Linked DNA regions of Homo sapiens: regions 1, 2 and 3 are each linked to region 4. The links are contacts of gene promoters, found by promoter capture Hi-C in blood cells and fetal thymus (Javierre and others, 2016). All regions are on one chromosome and are shown on one strand. The core of a region is centred on a gene start or on the middle of the fragment in contact, and the rest is flanking DNA. Distances in the headings are between cores, read along the strand shown.

Region 1 (2,700 bases), core at 193-2,692, 310 kb before region 4:
TCAAGGGATCCTCTTGCCTCAGCCTCCCGAGTAACTGGGACTACAGGTGTGTATCGCCATGCTCGGCTAATCTTTTAAAAAATTTTTGTAGATACGGCGTCTCGCTTTGCCGCCCAGGCTAGTCTCAAACCCTGGGCTCATGTGATCCTCCTGCCTCGGCCTCCCAAACAACGGGTGAGTCTTGATTCATTATAGCCCATCACGCTAACTGCATCCCCTGTGCCAATAACTGGCTTCAGACGCGGCATGTGATCATGTTCTGGCCAATGAACTATTAGGGTCCGTGGGGTGGTGTTGGAGGTGGAGCATGTTTCTAGAGAAGTTTTATGATTCTTTTTTTTTTTTTTTTTTTGAGAAGGGTTTCACTTTGTCAGCCAGGCTGGAGTGCAGTGGCGTGATCTCAGCTCACTGCATCCTCGACCTCCTGGGCTCAAGCACACCATGCTCCGCTAATTTTTTTATATTTGTTGTAGAGATGAGGTTTTGCCATGTTACCCAGGCTGGTCTTTAACTACTGAGCTCAACGATCCACCTGCCTCAGCCTCCCAAAGTGCTGGGATTACAGGCGCGAGCCACCATGCCTGGCTTCATGATTCTTAAAAACAGACACAAGGAAGTCATGATTCCTTTTTTGAGTCTGCATTTTGGTGAGGATGTGAGGGCTGGAGCTGTTGTAGCTATCTTGAGACCATGAGGAAAGCTAGCTGCTGCACTGAGGATGGCAGAGCAAAGTGATGGAACGAGCTTGAGTTCTCGATGATATTGTTCCACTGCCGAATTAAGCCATATGGGGTCTTCTCATTGTCTCAGATAACAAAACTTTTTTGTAGTTAAGTCTCTTGCAGCTGGGTTTTTTGTTACGTGTTGCTAAAAGCTTCCCAACTGATACAGAAGAGGAGGTAGTATTTGAAGAATGAGTCTTGGAGAGAAAAGAGAGAGCTTTTTAGGAAGGGGATACAGTCCAGACAAAGATGTTGAGGAAACAGGAAAAGTACATGGGAGGGCAGTAGGTCCGTGGCAGGTGTAGTTCTAAGAAGAGGCCAGATAGGGCTCAGCCCATTAGGCGCACCCCCTTTCCATTCCCTCTTTGCCTCTCTCTATCCATTCATTCCTCCTTTATTTGGAGGAGGGTCTTTGTTGCCCAGGCTGGAGTGCAATGGCACAATCATGGCTCACTGCAGCCTCAACCTCCCGGGCTCAAGTAATCCTTCCACCTCAGCTTCCCAAGTAGGTGGGACTACAGATGAACACCACCAGCTGAGCTAATTCTTAATTTTTATTTTTGTAGAAACAGGGTCTCACTATGTTGCCCAAGCCGGTCTCAAACTTCTGGACTCAAGCGATCCTCCCACCTAGGCCTCCCAAAGTGCTAGGAATACAGGCATGAGCTATCTCACCCGGCCCCTTCATTCCTCTTGAGGGGCTCCTCTTCTTCAACCGGTGTCCTCTCCAATGTACCTAAGAGGAAGATGCAGGTGGCAGAAGCCTGAGCTTAGACATAAAATGTTTATTGAGTGCTCATACGTGCCAGTCCTGTGCTGAGCTGCAGTGAATGAGAGATGGTTCCTTGGAACAGAGCTCCCAGTTCAGAGACAGAGACTAAAACATAAACCTATGTTTCTAAACATATGGTCAATTTCAGGCGAAAGAATTTCAGATGGCTTCTGGACTAACATTTGCTTTTTATTTTAACGTTACAAGTTTATTTTGATGATCAATTTCTATATATGATAGAAATATAAATTTTCTTTTTAAATACATTTAAGCAAATAAATAAAGAGTTAATTTAAGGAAAACTAGGTGGTAATGTTACAGGTGGTATGTGGATATAGTAAAACTTGTGCAATGAGAATTAAGTAAATATGTGCATGTGTGTGTGTATGTGTGAATGAGTGACATGTTTGTCTGCTCAGTCTTTTTTCCAGGCATATGAGAGCAGTCTTCTGTTCTTTTAGGAACTGGTGCTCCTGAATTTTATATAGTTTCACTGGGAGACACCCTGTATATGTGCAAGCTTCCCCACTCCCACCGTAGTTGATTGGTCCCGGATTTTTCAAACATGAAAAGCCCCTCTCTGGTGGCAGAGGCTATGAGGCACAGCTGTGGGCGACCTGTTCCTTGCCCTACTATGGACATTGAGTTGGAGAGAAGGAAGCAGGCCAAGAGAAGGAGAAACAGGAGATATAGTTGATTCTCATTTCTGGTGGTAGTTATGTTCTGTAAAGTTGCCACAAATGAAACTAGTGAACACCAACCTATTGCTCCCAGAGGAACCACAGGTTAGGTTCCTGTGAGCTTCTGGTCACAGCATTTTCATCCATGGATCAACACATACCTTGTTGTATGTGTGTTTCTGTTTAAACACTTTATTTAATATATATTGTTGATTCATTGACACTCAACGCATGGTCAGCAGCACCGTAACTACCGGACGAAGCTTCTCCAGATAAAAATGTGGCACTAAATGGACCTTGAAAAGGATGCTTGTTTATAAAAAGAGAGCTGAACAAGAAGAAGGGCATTGCCTTGTTTGACCTTAGCTGGAAACATGTGCATCATGTGACTCAAAAAATTATCACAGCCGGGTGCATTGGCTCACACCTGTAATCCCACTGTTTTGAGGTCAGGAGTTCAAGACCAGCCTGGCCAACATGGCGAACCCCGTCTCTATTAAAAAGACAAAAATTAGCTGGGTGTGGT
Region 2 (2,700 bases), core at 11-2,510, 350 kb before region 4:
AGACCTTGAAATGGGCTTTAACTGGTGCTCACCTCCACGGGTCGCTGAGGTGCCATGTCTGGGGGTCATTTTCTTCTTCTTCTTCTTCTTTTTTATAAAAATTATATTTACTTATTTATTCATTTATTTATTTATTTCAGACAGATTCTCACTCTATCACCCAGGCTGGAGTGCAGTGGTGCAATCTCGGCTCATGGCAACCTCTGCCTCCCAGTTTCAAGTGATTCTCCGGCCTCAGCCTCCTGAGTAGCTGGGATTACAGGCATGCACCACCACACCTGGCTAATTTTTGTATTTTCAGTAGAGACAGGGTTTCAGTATGTTAAGATGGTCTTGAACTCCTGGCCTCAAGCTGGTCTTGAACTCCTGGCCTCAAGCGATCCGCCCACCTCGGCCTTCCAAAGTGCTGAGCCACTGCGACCAGCCTAGGGGTCTTCTTAGCAGAGTGTCTGGAACAGGGGAATGCTGGGTAGTCAGTTGCCTTAACACATCCCTCTGTGGGGCACTCTGGTTGGTAAGTGGGAGGGCTGATGTTGGCCTCCAGATTTCCCTCACTTTTGGCCGCCGCCTTTTGGCATGCGTTTGCTGGTTGCCTTCTGAGGGCAGAGGTGAGATTCAGGGATGAACCAGTCACACTGGACTTGGGACAATAAGCCATTGCAGTAGAGTGTTCGGGGGCCCTCACCCAGCCTGGGAGGTGGGGCTAGGAAAGGCTTCGGGGTAGGACGTGTCACACCCTCCAGAGGTCTTGCCTGGGAAGCCCGGGGTGCTTCCTGCCTTTCCAGGAGAACAGACCTTGTTTCCGAGCCAGAGGCCACCAGAGGCCACCCCCGCCACCTCCCTGGGGGCTGATCTGGCCACAGAATGGGGCTTCAATGGTGGGAGCTGGGCAAGATGGATTGTTCCCTCCCGCATCCTGGGGAAGTGCCACCCGATAGCCCCTGCTGACCCTGGGTCACCCACACTGCCTCTGTCCAGTGGGCCAGGGAGAAAATCATTAATGGGAGGCCGGCTTCTGGGGCAGGGCAGCTCCCCTTGGGGACCTGGGGGAAGGAGATTGGTTTGACCTCTGGTCGATAAGGTCTCCTGTGAGCAGGAGGAGAGTAGAAGGACAGGGAGGGGACGCCAGAGGCCTGCCCTTGGGGGAGGGGACAGGGCCAGCCACCTCCGGAAGTCATTCCAGGAAGGTCAAAGGCCATGGGTGGGGAGTCTTCCGGACAAATGCCCACCAGGTGTGGGCCTCAGGAGCACTGGAGTTCTTCTGTCCCTGAGCAGCAGGATGTGGAAGGAGGCGGGACCCAGGTATCAGACCCGGGCTGTGAGTGGTGACTGTGTGTGGCTGCTGAGGGCTGGGGGAAGTGAAGAGGAGGCACACATGGTGGGCCAGCAGGCCAGGCCCTGCCTCACTGGGCTGTGTGGTTTGGAGCAATGGACTTAACTTTTCTGGGCCTTAGTGTCTCCATCCATTCAATGAGGGTGATAAGCGTTCTCATGGTGCAAGGTTGTCAGGACTATCAAAAGCAATAGCATCTTCCCAGATATAAATCTGGTTTGCAGGGCTTCACCTAGGGCCCCATAAAGGGTTCCCTTGTGTTCTATCACTAGTTACCCCTACTGAGCCAGGCACTGCTCTGAGCACTTAATATATTGCTTTATATGTTTAACCTTTGCAGCCACTCATGAGGAGGGTGCTGTTATCATCACCCTATTTTATAGGTGAGGAAACAGGCACTAGAGTTTAATAACTTGCATAAGGTCCCTTAGCTAGAGAGTGGCACATCCTGGGTTTTGAACCCAGGGCCAGCTCCTGACAGCACTGGTGGGGCAGGCAGGGCCCCGCAAGGCAGTGGCCTGGGGCTGCCCGCAGGGGTGGGGCACAGGAAACACAGTCTTTAGGGTCACAAGGCCTGGGGTTAATTCTGCATTACTGCTCTGGGGCCTTGTCAGTGGAGCTGACAGTTTCCTCATCCATAATGTGGGATGATGCTTCCACCCTGAGGACAATCATGAAGGTTCAACAATGTGGTCCTGCTGACATACCTGTGGGCCCAGTCCAGGATCGGGAGATACATGCAGGTCAGCTTGGGGACAGAGATCCTGCTGTAGCAAATGAAGGAAACACATCCCTGCCCTTGGGAGCTCACAGCTGAGAGGTGAGACAGATGTTTGGGCAGCCAGGGTCCCAAGAGCTCTGCCATGGGCTGAGTGGGGGCGTGCCAGCGTGGGAATGGGGGTCCCTTGTGCCTAGCATTGTGATAGACTTTGTGGGCACACAGGGAACAAACCCAGAATGCTGTCTGGGCTTCAGGAATGGCTCAGCCTTGTGGTTGACATGGGATAGGACATGCATACAACCAGCAGGGTGTAGGGGACCCTGCTCCAATGGTAAATGGCACAGCAGGACTCCAGGTCTTTTCAACATTTGTTTATGTATCCATTCAAGAAGCGTTTGAGTTTCTACCGTGTTAGGTGCTGCGGATATAGTGGCAAATGAGAGACACTGCTCCAGCTTTCTCTCCCTTTTTTTTTTTTTTTTGATGGTGCTGCCAGTCTACTGGGGCCAAAAGACAAAACCCAGATAAGTGCTGGAAAGAAGCGCAAAGCATGGTTGAGGGGAGGGAGAGTGTCAGAGCTGGAGGTGGCTTCAGAAAGGGGTCCAGGAAGGCCTGCTTGAGGAGGTGACATTTGAGCAGAGACCCG
Region 3 (2,700 bases), core at 170-2,669, 340 kb before region 4:
TGTGTGTGTGTGTGTGTGTGTGTGTGTGTGTGTGTGAGAGAGAGAGAGAGAGAGAGAGACAGGAGAGAGAGAGAGAGACTGTAATCTCTTCCTTTCACCCCATCCCATCCCCCACTTCTCTTCCCCGGGCACTTGAACTCACCAGGCTGAGGTATCCATGGCTGTGTCTCTCCTGTTGGGTGTGGAGCTCTGGCTTGCTTGGTAGTGGGAGAATCCTTGAGGGGCTCTGGGGCACCCCGGCTACATGTCCCTGACGTCTGGGAGCAAGGAACCGGCAGGCCAAGGGCTGTGGCTGCATCGATCGTTTTAACAATTGCCAGGGGCTTACCGTCCTGCAGCAGTGACCTCTGGAACCTGGCCGCCTCGTCAGCGCTGGGCCTCTTGGTTCTAGCATTTCAGAAAGATTTTATTACTTTGAAACTGGCAAGAGAGCTGCATTTAACAAATTAGGGTGGGGGCAGGAGTGGGGGTGCAGGTTGGGGGGACCCTCGGGTTGGGGAGACCCACGTGTGTGGGGATCTGAGTCTCCAATGATGCTGCTTCTCAGCACCCCTGTTCGTTTCCTGGGTGCGCTTGTTTGCAAAAGTCATGAACTGGCTTCCTCTGGGTGTTCCAATGGAAGGTGTTATCCACAGGAGCTCTATGGTAGGGTCAGGTTCTCTGTCCCCTTCTCTCTGCAGGGACTGACTCCCATATGCAGTTTGTACAACCAGGGTTGAGGGGGTTTTGCCTGGACAGGTGGAGTGGGGTGGAGGGTAGGCCTGGATTCTAAGGGGGATGGGCTTGTGCTTGGGGGCAATGCCCTGGCTGATTATTTGCGGTTCATTACATCTTGTTGGGGGTGGGGGAGATGACTTCAGTCTTGCTGAAGCCATGTTTTTGATTTTTTGAATCCCCCAAGTCTTATCCCTCTCCCTTTCCCCCATACCAAGAGGCTGGGGAGGATGTAACAGGCCAGAGATCCCAGCCAGGGCATTGTCGCATTATTTTGTTAATAATTACTGTCATAATAGCTTCCGCTAATTGAGCACTGACTTTCTGCCCGGCACTGAACTGAAACGCTCCCAGTGAATCCCAGGAGGCTGCCACCGCTACCATCCCCATTCCACAGATGAGGAAGCCGAGGCTTGGCCACGCCCGGGCACTTGTCCCAGGTCCCACACTACAGCTCGGCGGGATTCAAAGCCCGGTTTGGAAGGAAAAGATTCCAGCCGCACTGCCCACACCAACTGAGGCTTCTCAAAGAGCAAAATAATAGTAATCCGCAGAGCGCGGCTCCGGGATGCCGAGGAGTGGTTTTAATTAGTGATTCACTTTCCGCCGTTGCGAGGCTGGCCGGCCGGCGAGGGGGGTCGGGGCCGGGGCCGGGGCCACGGACTGGGGCGCGGGCGCCGGGTCCCCCTAGCCTGGCCGGTCCCCCTGGCCTGGCCGGTCGTTTCCTGTGGCGGCGCGGCCCAGCCCCGCGTCAGGCGCTTTGTTCTCCTGCCCGCCTGGGCCGCCTCCCAGGCCCAACCTGCTTTGAGTTTTCGGCTCGTTTTTCTTTCTCCCCCAGCAGGGGCCAGCGGCACCCGCCAGTGCCCGTGCCCACGCCGCGGCCCGCCCTCGCCGTCTGCGTGCTGTTCCCGGCATCTTGACCCCAGGAGGGCTGCGCGGGGGTCAAAAGAGCAGCCCCGTCCCCTCGGGCCGCCCCCCCACCCCGCCGCCGGCCGCCTCCCGCCCGCGGGCGAGCCGCTGAGTCACCGCTTCCACAGGAGCCGGCTCCGATTTCCTGCCCCCTCGCCCTCTCTCCCGTCATTAATATTGGTGACGGTTCAGCTGGCGCGGCGCACCCTGGCGCAGCGGAGGGAGGCCCGGCCCCGGCCCCCGGCGCCTCCCCCGCTCCCGCCCAGGCCTCCACGCCCGACCCCAACCCTTGCCAGCCTCCTGTCTTCTGGGCCCACCCGGGGGACTCGAGGACGCCACCAAATCCACCTGTCCAGGCTTGACCTCTGCCCCGCCCAGCGCCCCCTCGCTCTCTGGCCCCCGAGGCGGGAATCTGGCTCCTGGGCTGCGGTCCTCTCCACAGCCTCCCTGCCCAGTCGTACCTTAGGCCCTGGGTGTCCCCTCCTGCCCTAACCCCTGCCACCGCCTCTGTTCTGGCCTCCTACCATCCCGGAAATCGTTGCCCCAGCCGCCTGGCGTGTGGCTTCTGCATCTCCAGGCCTTTCCCCGCTGCCCACCTTCGGCTTTCTACAGCACATACGGCATTGGAGGGCGGCACATGACCTGCCCTCCACCCCCACCCAGCTCCAAACCCATCCATGGGTCCTCCCACCTTGCTATGGGACACCGAAGGCCCTGGGGAGCCTCCCCGGGCACATGGATTCCTTATGCTCCAGATGCGTGGCACTGAGCACCGCTGTTCCATGGACGGGGCCTTCGGGCACTGTCCATGCTGTGCCCTCTGCCGGGACTGCCCTTCCCTCTGTCCACTTGCCCTGAGTCCTGGCTGGTCATTCCCTGACCCCTCTGTCAGCCCACCCACCCCGGAGCCCCACAGTCCCTCGCACAGCCCTCTGTTGCCTGTCTGCTAACCTGGGTTGTCACTGTTTGTCTTTGTGCCTGCATCCTCTGTCACACTGGGAACTCCCTGAGGGCGGATTCTGCATCCATTCATCTGAGTTCTGTGTACCTGGCCAAAGGGCTCCGGGGGCACCAAAG
Region 4 (2,700 bases), core at 1-2,500:
TCATACACTGTTAATGAGAATGTACAATGGCACAGCCATTCTGGAAAACAGTTTGACAATTTCTTATAAAACTATCATGCCATGATGCTATGGCCCAGCAACTGCACTCTCAGGCATTTATCCCAGACAAATGAAACTTACGTTTACCCAAAAACATGTACAAGCATGTTCATATCACCTTTACTCGCAAGAGTCAAAAACTGGAGGCAGCTGGGTTTTGAACAGGTTTGGAACGTGTCCTTCATTATGGCATACACATATCACAAAATACTACACAGCAGTCAAAAAGAATGAACTACTGATACATGCAACAAATTGGATGAATTTCCAGGGAATTATACTATGTTTTTTTTTAAAGCCAATCCCCAAAGGTTAAATACTGTTTCATTCCATTTATGTAGCATTTGGAATAAACAAATTTTAGAAAGAGAGAGCAGATGAGTGATTTCCAGGAGTTAAGGACAGTGTGGGTGGGGTCGGGAGGCAGCAGCCATCACGAAGCAGCACAAAGCCCCTTGTAGTTTTGAAACTCTTCTGTGTCTTGACTATTGTCCTAAGTAAGCAAACCTACACAAAATTGTTTAGAATTAAACACACACACACACACACACAAATGAGAACAAGTAACACTGGGGAAGTCTGCGTAAGATTGGTAGAGTGTATCAATGTCCACATCCAGGCTGTGATCTCCTACTGCAGTGAGGCAGGATATTACTGTACCACTGGGGGAAAAATTCATAGAGGGTACACAGGATCTCTCTGTATTGTTTCTTACAACTGCATGTGAATCCACAATTATCTCCATACATTTTTCAATTAAAAATAGCTTTTATTGTTTTTTTTTTTTTTGTAATTTTTTAAAAATAGAGACATGGTCTCACCATGTTGCCCAGGCTAGTCTCAAACTTCTGGACTCAAGCAATCCTCCAGCCTCAGCCTCCCAAAGTGCTAGGGATTACAGGTGTGAGCCACTGCACCCAAACTATTGTTTTTATATTTTAGAATTAGCATTTTTATTAAAAACTTGCAAATATAGAAGAAAATAATCAGAAAAATCATCATCCTGAAACATAATCTTTTGATGCATTTCTTCCTGATCTTTGTTTTCTACACTCATGTGAAAAATAAAAATGAGGGAAGGGACTAAAAATCAGGGTGGTGGAAAGGTGGGAACCTTGCTGTCCCTACCTTCTGTGACATCAGAACTCAATGTTTGCAGGATGCCTGGTGACCACAGGTGGGGGAGGGGAAGGGTGCCCTTCTGTCTGTTGAGTGTGGTCCACCCAGGCAGCCAGATCTGAGGCCATGGCAACCCAGCAAGTGGACAGCAGAAGGCAGGTGGCAGCAGAGCAGGTGGCAGCCCAGCTGCTTGAACGGAGAAGGGGCAGCCACTGTGATGACGAGAAGCAGGTGAGGCCAGGCCAGGTACATGCTGCTTTCCTCCCATCTGGGCTCCTTTTGCCACTCCAGACAGACTAGAAGTCCCTCAAAGCCCGGAATGAATCTTGGACCCAACCGTCCCTGGATCCCACTCTGATGGAGCACAGTTTAGGGGCCTAGGCACTTCTTGCCGGGGCCATCACTGACACTGTCTTATTAAATTCTCAGCACTGCCAGCAGAAGGTATGTTCCAGGAGGACTGGGCTTTTTGTTTAGTTCCCTGCTGAATCCCTAGTGCCTAGCATGGTGCTTGGTGCCAAGTAGATGCTGAATGAACGAATGAACTGATAATACTCCTGAATTGGAGCGCTCCTGGAGGATTCATTCTCAGGGCTGAAATTCAAAACTCATGTGGGATTTCGTCAAAATGGAAAACATTAATGCTTGCTGCACACAGCCTGGTGCATCCACACCCCATCTCTTAGATGCTATCAACCTCGTTCACAGAGGGTAATCTGAGGCCCAGAAAGGCAAAAGGGCCGTACAACTGGGACATATCAGGATTTGAAAACACATCCATCTGATTTTAGAACTCCCTGAAACCAGGTTCATCTGCTATGAGAACCCTGAGCAAGGGTTTATTCTGAGGATAAGAAGAAGCTGTTGACGGGTTTTAAGCAGAGCAATGAATGAATGAGCTCTGCTGTCTCTGTTTTCAAAAGACTTGTTCACTCATTAATTTACTATACATGCACCGAGCGCCTTCTATATGCTGGACCTTGTAGCGTATAACAGGGGCCTTCATGGGCACCCATCATGCTGCGGCTTTTCCTAAAAAGTGTTCCATAGACACCAGACCCCAGGAATGCTCCTTTTAGAAACATTCTTTACAGAATTCTGTGGCTTGGGGAAGGCTGCATACCCGCATCCCCTCCTGAAGACTGACGCTGCTCATTCACGTAAGGAAGGCTCTGAGAAGTCCTGCAACAAAGAAGTCTGCATAGCTTTGTTTACCACAGCATTTCCCACCTTGATTCTACCAGAGTCCCATTGTTTCCTTTTTTTTTTTTTTTTTTTTTTTTTTTTTTTTCTGAGACGGAGCCTCGCTCTGTCACCAGGCTGGAGTACAACAGTGCGATCTTGGCTCACTGCAACCTCCTCCTCCTGGGTTCAAGTGATTCTACTGCCTCAGCCTCCCGAGCAGCTGGGACTACAGGCGCCCGCCACCACACCCAGTTAATTTTTGTATTTTTAGTAGAGACAGGGTTTCGCCATATTGGCCAGGCTGGTCTCGAACTCCTGACCTCATGATCCACCCGC

What was found. The method cuts DNA at HindIII sites, captures the fragments that hold promoters and counts their contacts. A CHiCAGO score of 5 or more calls a contact.
Region 1: a contact is called between a fragment that was not itself captured here and the fragment with the promoter of SMIM23 in region 4, in 4 of 17 cell types (M1 macrophages, M2 macrophages, endothelial precursors and 1 more). The highest score is 6.2, in M1 macrophages.
Region 2: a contact is called between a fragment that was not itself captured here and the fragment with the promoter of SMIM23 in region 4, in 3 of 17 cell types (M1 macrophages, M0 macrophages and endothelial precursors). The highest score is 7.0, in M1 macrophages.
Region 3: a fragment that was not itself captured here is called in contact with the fragment with the promoter of SMIM23 in region 4 in 1 of 17 cell types (M0 macrophages); the score reaches 5.0 in M0 macrophages.

What each region holds. Positions count from the first base shown.
Region 1 is chr5:171,470,371-171,473,070 of GRCh38, forward strand. The region is part of intron 2 of LOC105377721 (a long non-coding RNA gene); the gene reads right to left. Among named protein-coding and RNA genes, the nearest start is that of FGF18, 52 kb to the left of the region's middle. The HindIII fragment of the contact is 1,140 bases long and covers 873-2,012 here.
Region 2 is chr5:171,432,290-171,434,989 of GRCh38, forward strand. All of the region lies in intron 2 of FGF18 (fibroblast growth factor 18), which reads left to right. Among named protein-coding and RNA genes, the nearest start is that of FGF18, 14 kb to the left of the region's middle. RefSeq lists an enhancer at 1,950-2,485. The HindIII fragment of the contact is 4,550 bases long and covers 1-2,700 here.
Region 3 is chr5:171,449,366-171,452,065 of GRCh38, forward strand. All of the region lies in intron 4 of FGF18 (fibroblast growth factor 18), which reads left to right. Among named protein-coding and RNA genes, the nearest start is that of FGF18, 31 kb to the left of the region's middle. RefSeq lists an enhancer at 1,598-2,169. The HindIII fragment of the contact is 7,697 bases long and covers 1-2,700 here.
Region 4 is chr5:171,784,567-171,787,266 of GRCh38, forward strand. It overlaps SMIM23 (small integral membrane protein 23), which reads left to right and starts at 1,251. Exons shown (of 4, transcript NM_001289970.2): 1 at 1,251-1,410. The coding sequence starts at 1,306. The HindIII fragment of the contact is 8,257 bases long and covers 1-2,700 here.